2 separate regions of the Homo sapiens genome follow, and region 1 is linked to region 2. The links are contacts of gene promoters, found by promoter capture Hi-C in human tissues and cell types (Jung and others, 2019). All regions are on one chromosome and are shown on one strand. Each heading gives the region's core, a stretch centred on a gene start or on the middle of the fragment in contact. The rest is flanking DNA. Distances are from core to core; before and after follow the strand shown. Region 1 overlaps TET3 (tet methylcytosine dioxygenase 3). Region 2 holds the start of TPRKB (TP53RK binding protein).

What was found. The method cuts DNA at HindIII sites, captures the fragments that hold promoters and counts their contacts. A contact is called where the count stands out against the background at its distance.
Region 1: a contact is called between a fragment that was not itself captured here and the fragment with the promoter of TPRKB in region 2, in 1 of the 25 tissues and cell types used here (aorta).

What each region holds. Positions count from the first base shown.
Region 1 is chr2:74,027,630-74,031,812 of GRCh38, reverse strand. All of the region lies in intron 3 of TET3 (tet methylcytosine dioxygenase 3), which reads right to left. Among named protein-coding and RNA genes, the nearest start is that of TET3, 45 kb to the right of the region's middle. RefSeq lists enhancers at 48-547, 548-1,049. The HindIII fragment of the contact is 7,139 bases long and covers 1-4,183 here.
Region 2 is chr2:73,736,085-73,740,157 of GRCh38, reverse strand. It overlaps TPRKB (TP53RK binding protein), which reads left to right and starts at 2,813. Exons shown (of 5, transcript NM_016058.5): 1 at 2,813-2,856. RefSeq lists enhancers at 2,372-2,431, 2,472-2,551. The HindIII fragment of the contact is 20,385 bases long and covers 1-4,073 here.

The sequences.
Region 1 (4,183 bases), core at 982-3,481, 290 kb before region 2:
GTGTTTGCCCCCACTCAATCCTTTCTGAAGGACTTAAGACCTAAGTTTTTCATTCAAAGAAATAAATCTTTAAGTGACCACCCAAAAATCTAGAGGAAAATTAATTTTTGGCAGAGGGTATCCACCTACCAGCCACAAGATCAACTTCACAGAGTAGGCTAGGAAATGCCATTTAGGGAAGCCTGCTGCTGTCCAGAAGGCAGGAAATTGGGGAGCACAAATTAATCCTCTTTATCCTAAACTTCAACTCCTGGAAAAGTCACACAACTCATCTTAGTGTGTAAAGCTTCATTATCCACAGTCACTACTCGTTTATTAGCCCAGATAACTGAAAGATGCCAGTAATCTGGGTTTGCACATGTTCATCTGAAAGGCCTGGGTGCAATGCTGGAGAAACAGAACAGGAACCTAGGCATTTGCGCAACCATTATCTGTTTCTGAGAGTCGGGGTGATGAGGAAGGCCACGGGGGTCCCTCGTCTCTCTGGCCTGTCTGTGGCAGCAGATCACCCACTCACCTGCCCACCCTGGGTTTCCGTGACCCTGCCGGTTACTGGTCCTCCTCCATTCTCCTTTTCCTCCTCCGTCCCCTCAACAGAGCTGTTCTCCACTCTCCTGCCCTCACTGCTCTCCATCGCCCCATGCTCCCCTCAGAAGCCTCCCCTCCAATCAAGGCCCCACCGCTCAGCCTGCACCAACAGCCCCAAAGTTTCCTTTTTCCTTGACTGCTTTCCAGCTACCAGACACACTTCCACTTGAATGCAACTTAAGCCCATCACATTTACAACTTAACTCAGCGCCTGCATCCTTTTCCTCAGCAACTCCCCCCCGGACATCCCTTTACAAAAAAAAATCACGTTAAGATCCATTCCCCTGGGCATCCTGGCTAAACCCTTCCATCCCCTCTGATGTCCTCTTGATGTTTCCATATGCAAGCAAACCCTAGTCCTGCCAACTGCTCCTGTAGAGCATTTCAGATCTGCCTTCTTTTTGTTTTCTCCTCATTTATCTCTCACAAGGACAAACTCAGGAGGTGGCTCCTTGACTGGCCCCCTGCCTCTGCTTCCACCCCAGAACACTACTGTTGGACTCATATTCAACCCACTGAGCCTTGAACCCCCATCACCCAGCTCCCAGGCCAGGGTGCCTTCTAATTCACAACTTACAACTTCTGTCTTGGTTCAAACAGTAAAAATAAATAAGTAAATAAATCTGTAGATAAGCAAATAAATGAACACATGAACAAATGTTATCAAGAGCAATAAAGACTACTTCCATCAAGCAGTGCTATTCCTAGAAACTTGAGCTTATAAGTTTGCATTAAAAAAAATCTTTCCACACATTAGTGAAAGCTGAAAACTCAGTATGAGGGGCTTGGTTTGGTAAACTATGATACAATTCAACAGAGTATTATACACTCATCTAAACCTGCAATTATAAACACTAAGGAAAAAAGCTAGATGAAATAGGAAGAATAGCAGAATACCATACTGTATGAAGTTTAGACTGCCAACTATGTAAAACCAAGCACACAAATGAGAAAACTAGGTAGTTTTTTTAAAAAGTGAAAATAAGTATTTGCAGCCCACAGAATTATGAGATGTCACTCACTGATGCTATCAGCACATCATAACAACCATTCCTTTCCTATATGCATACATAATTATGTATTCATTCATTTATCTCTCAAACAAATATACATTCCGCATCACTTCTTTGTGGATAGAGTAGTGAACAAACAGAGTCCTTTCTCTTGGATAGGGACTTTTTAGACGTTTGATTTTGTCTTAGATCCTATTCAAAGGCAAGTTCCTTTAGGAACTGATACTGTACCACTATCACTAACATGTGCAGGGCAACATAAACCCATGTTACATACATACTCTGTGGTTTTGAGTATGTGATGAAAGCAATGAAAACTGATATTAACAGTGACTTTATCTCCAAGTGAAGCTGCCACTAGTGTAGTTACTGACAGGATATCAAAGGCATACTACAAACTCATTATAGAGCCAGAGAAAACCCTGGTGGATGATCCAAGAGAATAAAGAGAGGTCATAGGCATAGAATAAGGAACAGAAAGGACAGCTTCAGTAGAAGTTGCTGAGAGAGACAGAACAAGAGGTTCTTTTCACTGTGGAGAATAAAAAAGATGTAAAAATCTCCCACTGCCTAAAGATGACTATAGTTTGTATTTGGTATCTTTTTTAACTATGCAACATACACTTAATTTACAAAACTGGGATGACTGAGTATATCAGTGGTTTTTTCTCATATGCTAATTTCTTCCCTAACTGTATAAACATTTTCCTATATTGTTAACTATTCTTCAAGAATTTCATTTTTAATAGCTGTACTGTTTTCTCTGGCATGTATATAGCACACACAGGGCCCCGGAGGCTGAATCTCTAGGTTTTCTCCTGTTTGCTATATTCCCAAGGGACGTATTGACTGTTGGAATAGTGTCTTTCCTCCTCCTTCCATGTCTATTTGGGCTTATTATTCCCTTGAGAACAGGGATGGCAACTTGGCACTAAAGGCTGAATGGATGGATTCTACTCAACCTTGAAGGCTGTAGGAAGCAACCTTGATAACAACAGGTAGGGGTAGGATTTTACTCACATTAGTACAAGGGCTTCATCTTATTTGGGTGACTACAAATATAAAAGGTACGTGTCTAGTAAGCCTTTGGGGACAACTGCCCCTTTCAAGATTGGAGGAGAAGCAGTAGTAACACTAGTATTTGCTGTTCCAGTACCCCAAGGTAACAATCATGAGACCCCCTAAGGCCCATGGTTCTACAAACACTGGTTGAAGACATGCCCAGCAAGAGATAAGCAGATTGAGCATGGCCAGCTGAGTCTTGGCCAGGACTCCTGTAAGTGTGATCTATGGACTAGCACTATTCTGCTATCTCCATTAGTCTGTGACAAGGTAAATACAAAAGCTAAGAGTGTTAACTTTAGACACTTGTATCACAATTTGACATTGTCATGGCATCTAAGCACATGATCATTTTTCTAGTAATTCATTCTTATTTTTACAAAATTATCAGTCCATGAATTAGAAATTTTTAAAACTTAGTCCTTCACCAGAAATTTTGAAGATAACTGATGTACATCATGTAAATGTTAATACCAAACAATACATGCAAGTAACCAATAAAAAAGCTATAAAGACCAATCTAGCTCTCTCATCTACTATAAACATCTACAAAACAGTGAGAAGACACTAAGATAATTAAATGGGAAAAGAACAGTCTTTTAATTGGGACAACTGGTTATCCAGTTGCAACAGCATGTGAACCCCTGCCTCACACCATATACAAAAACTCACTCAAAATGGATCAAAGACCCAAGTGTAAGAACTAAAACTATAAAACTCTAAAACAGACATAAATATTTATTATCTTGGATTAGGCAGAACTTTCTCAGATATGAGACCAAAAGAAAAAAGATAAACTGTACTTCATCAAAATTAAAAACTTTTGAGTTTCAAAGGACACCATCAAGAAAGTGAAAAAAAAAACGGCTAGGCATGGTAACTCAAATCTGTAATTCCAGCACTTTGGGTGGCTGAAGAATTGCTTGATGCCAGGAGTCTGAGACCAGCCCAGGCAACAAAGCAAGACCCCTGCTCTACATAATTTTTTTTTTAAAATTAGGCAGGCATGGTGGTGGCACACATCTGTAGTCCTAGCTACTTGGGAGGCTGAGGCAGGAGGATCCCCTGAGCCCAGGGGTTCCAGGTGCAGTGAGCCATGATCACTCCACTGCACTCTAGCCCAGATGACAGAGTAAGACCCTGCCTCTTAAAAAAAAAGTGAAAAAAACCCACACAATGGGAAAAAAATTTATAAATCATATACATATATACATATAATCATATTCAAGGAACTCATATAGAAGAGATAACAAACTCTTACAACCCCTTAACCAAAAAACCCCAATTTTAAAATGGGCATGTTCACACAAAAACGTGTATATAAATGTTCATAGCAGCATTATTCATAACAGCCCAAAGTGAAAATAACCTACATGTCCAGTGACTAAAGAATGGATAAACAAAATGTGGTCTGTGCATACAATGGAATATTATGCAGTCATGAAAAGGAATAAAGTATTGACACAGGCTACAACATGGATGAACCTTGAAAATGTTATGCTAAGTCAGCCAGACACTAA
Region 2 (4,073 bases), core at 1,564-4,063:
TCAGTGTTCCCAACCATTGTCTTTTCTTTTTCCATTTAGAGTGCACATCCTGTAGGTGGCCGGTGGTTCAAGCTGCCAGAGCACCCGACAGGCCCCTCTGACTCTGATCTAGAGGTGATACGTCCCCCGGGTGCCTCTCTTCTATGAAATCCACAGGGATACAGGACAGGACCAAGGAGTATCAGGGTGCTAGGCTTAGTGGCACCAGGAACACCTGATCCTTCCATTCAGGTAGGTAACCTTATCAGACATGTCGAGTTTGTACAAGACAAACCTTCCCGGACTGGACGACTGAAGCCAAAAGGCCTGGGTCATGCAACAAGCGGAATGGGTACTCTCGGGACTGCAGCAGTCAGACTGGGACACTACACTCAGCTCAACCTCTATCACATAGGTAGGGAATACCCGAGGATGCAGGAAGTGTAAGGGGCAGGGCACTAACCTGTCAGTCTGCTTTTTCCACAAGGACGTGACTGCAGAGGCCTAGAAGCATAACGCGTTTGTTAGGCTCTCCCAAGCTGTGGCTACCATAGGAAAGTGCTGGATCTGTCATCCCAGACCCCATTATGTCACAGGCTACAGCAACCTTCTCGTCCTGCCAGTAGTAAACTCTACCAGTATTATAGTGGCACAGTGAATATCAACAGAACCTGAGCCCTGGCTTACTGAGTGAGGATCTAACATCTGCCACATGGGAGGGAGGTAGACTTAATTGGCCTAAGGTGGCAAAACATCATGACAACTAATAAGATCTTGGTGGGCTGGCACCTTTGACCTATTATGTTCTTACCTGGATCACTGGATCCTGGACTAGGTTGATGCTCCAGACAGACCTGATCAACCTGTTTGTGATGTAGTCCTCCTGGGCCTAGTAAAATGTATTCTGGCTATGGCTCAACAATGTTGTACTGACATTGTGTCTGTGAAGGTGTTACATCGATCTGATAAGACAAACTTCCGCCTCCAGATACTAGGAGGTTGGTGGGCATATGAAACGGACTAGCTTTGCTAAAGGGTATAATCTGGGTTAAGGGCATAGACTGCAGGACAGTTCTCCAGGTGGCCTTGGACCAATTTAGTTCTCTCTCCTTTCTCACTTGTGGTTCTCTAGGATAACTGTAGAATGTGCTGGGAATGTAGCATCCTGTGATAGAGAGAGACTAACCAGACCAGCCAGGGCCCTGTTCCAGTGTCTCCCAGAAATAGAATGTCCTTCATATATATATGTATATATATATATATATATTTTTTTTAATTTTAATTTTTATTTATTTATTTTTTTTTGAGAGGGAGTTTCACTCTTGTTGCCCAGGCTGGAGTGCAATGGCGCGATCTCAGCTCATGGCAACCTCTGCCTCCCCAGATCACGTGATTCTCCTGCCTCAGTCTCTTGAGTAGCTGGCATTACAGGCATGAGCCACCATGCCTGGCTAATTTTTTATTTTTTAGTAGAGACGGGGTTTCTCCACGTTGGTCAAGCTGGTCTCGAACTCCCGACTTCAGGTGATCTGCCTGCCTCGGCCTCCCAAAGTGTTGGGATTACAGGCGTGAGCCACCGCACCTGGCCGAATGTTCTTCATGTTTTAGCCCAGTGTGTCATGCCTCCCCACCTCTTCCCCCTGCCCCTGCCCCCTGCAATTAGGCTGTTGCATTGCCACAAAGAAATACCTGAGACTGGGTAATTTATATAGAAACGAGGTTAAATTGGCTCATGTTTCTGCAGGCTGTACAGGAAGCATAGTACCACCATCTGTTTGGCCTCTGAGGAGGCCCCAGGGAGCTTTTACTATTGGCAGAAGGAGAAGAGAGAGCAGGCACATCACATGGTGAGAACTGGACCAAGAGACTGTGTTGGAGGGTGCCACACACTTCTAAATAACCACATCTTCCTGGCACTCACTCACTATTGCAAAGACACCAAGCCATGAGAGATCCACTTCCATGACCCAAACACCTCCCATCAGGTCCCACCTCCAAAAATGGGGACAATTCAACATGAGATTTGGCAGGGACATATATTCAATCCATCCCTGGACCCCCAAATCTCATGTCCTTCTGACATTGCAAAACATAATCATGCCTTCCCAATCACCTACCAAAATTTTAACTTGTTCCAGCATTAAACTCAAAAGTCCAAAGTGTCACAGGAGACATGGCCCAGAAAAAGAACTAATCCCAGCTCCTTGGGAGGCCAAGGCGGGTGGATCACGAGGTCAGGTGATCCAGACCATCCTAGCTAACACGGTGAAACCCCGTCTCTACTAAAAATACAAAAAATTAGCGGGGCGTGGTGGCGGGTGCCTGTAGTCCCAGCTGCTCGGGAGGCTGAGGCAGGAGAATGGCTTGAACCGGGACGCGGAGGTTGCAGTGAGCCGAGATTGCACCACAGCACTCCAGCCTGAGTAACAGAGCAAGACTCTGTCTCAAAAACCAAAGAAATCTCCAGCAGCGGAAATGTATGTAGAACTCATTTTGGTCAGTACTTTTCCTTGTACAGGAAGAAACTGAGGTCGCCCGGTGCAACGCCCAACACAGGTTAAGACAAAGCCGAGACTCAAAACCAGACCCCAGCTTCCGGTCCCAGCCCATAGATTCTTCCATTTCCTTCGCCGGAAGTGATATACAGCCCCTGTTCTCCTTCGCGTCCGTTGACGGGACCCAGGTTGGGGAGGCGGAAGAATGGGCGGGACCATGGGCGGAAGCACCCCTCCTACCAGGACCCGGAAACAGATGGCCACCCCGAGCCGGCCTATCCGGAAACTGGCTCGAAGAAGACGGGGATTGGCCATCGCTTCCGGAAGTTGTGAGCTTTGTTTCGGAGCGGGAGCTCTTCCGAGACGCACTGGGGGCCGGATGGTGAGTTTTCCTTGCGCTCTAACGGGCAGGCTCGGGAGCGGGAGGGTCCGGGCAGTTTTAGTAGTGTCTTTGGGACAACGGCTGCGGTTGGTATTTCTCAAGCGGCAACGAGGCCAGCCCCTGGGAATGCAGCACGAGAATGATAGAGTCAGGCTGTCCCCTCAAGAAATAGTTTAGTGAGGAGACATGCAGCGGATAGGCGCAGGATTCTTCAGAGTTGTGATTGGGCCCAAAAAGGAGCTAGTCCTCAGACTAAAAAGAGCCGTAGTGCCGGGGTTCTGGGCGCTGTAGTAAATGGACTCCAAATGGAGTTGAAGGGAGGGAGGAGTGCGTCAGGCGGAGATGAAAGGAGAGAGGGAACTACCTGTCCGATAGGGCAGAATCGGGGAGAAAGGTTGGTGACTTGAGCTTAGAGAAGGCCATTGCGGCGGTAGCAGAAGAGGAGAGGCAGGGACCAGATCGTAGAGTGTGGAACACCGTGACACAAAGTTGGGGCTTTATCATAAGAGCAGCAGAATGACAAGATCTGATGTACATTTTGAAAGGATCACTGTAACTGCTGGTGACGACTGGATTATAGGAGGGCAGGAATTGTGAGAAACCACTCAGAAGGCTACTGCTGTAGATGAGCGATGTGACCTAGCGTATGGGAGAGAAGTGGACGAATCAAAAGTATATTTAGCAGGTGAAAATTCAGGACTTTACGGATTAGATATAGGATTTGAGTGACAGGTTGGGTCTCAACGATGATTCCAAGTTTCTGACCTGAGTGAGTAAATTACGCTAAACAAGAACAAACTATTTTGAAGTTTTCTAAGGGTTCTTCCCCCCACTCAGTGTTAAAAAGCACGTTTTTTTCCTTTCTTATTATGTGTACTCATGTTTTGTGTGCTTACTGTAGAAAATTCAGAACATACATAACAAAATATTTTCTTTTATATAAAGGACAATAAAAATCACCTCATAACCTCACTACCCAAGATGGTCATATTTTAGTGTTTCTTTCATGTATTTTAAAAAAATATGTGTATCTTTTTATATAATTGGGATCCTACTGATTATGTCTTTCTGTATCCATTTTTTCCACCTTAGCATGACTAATGATTGAACTGTGTGCCAGGATATCGTTCACAAATATATTTTTTTCTGTTTGTAACAGAAAAAGTCAAATTAATTCTAAATAAGAGATAACATTAACTTTTTGGTGTATTTTCTTT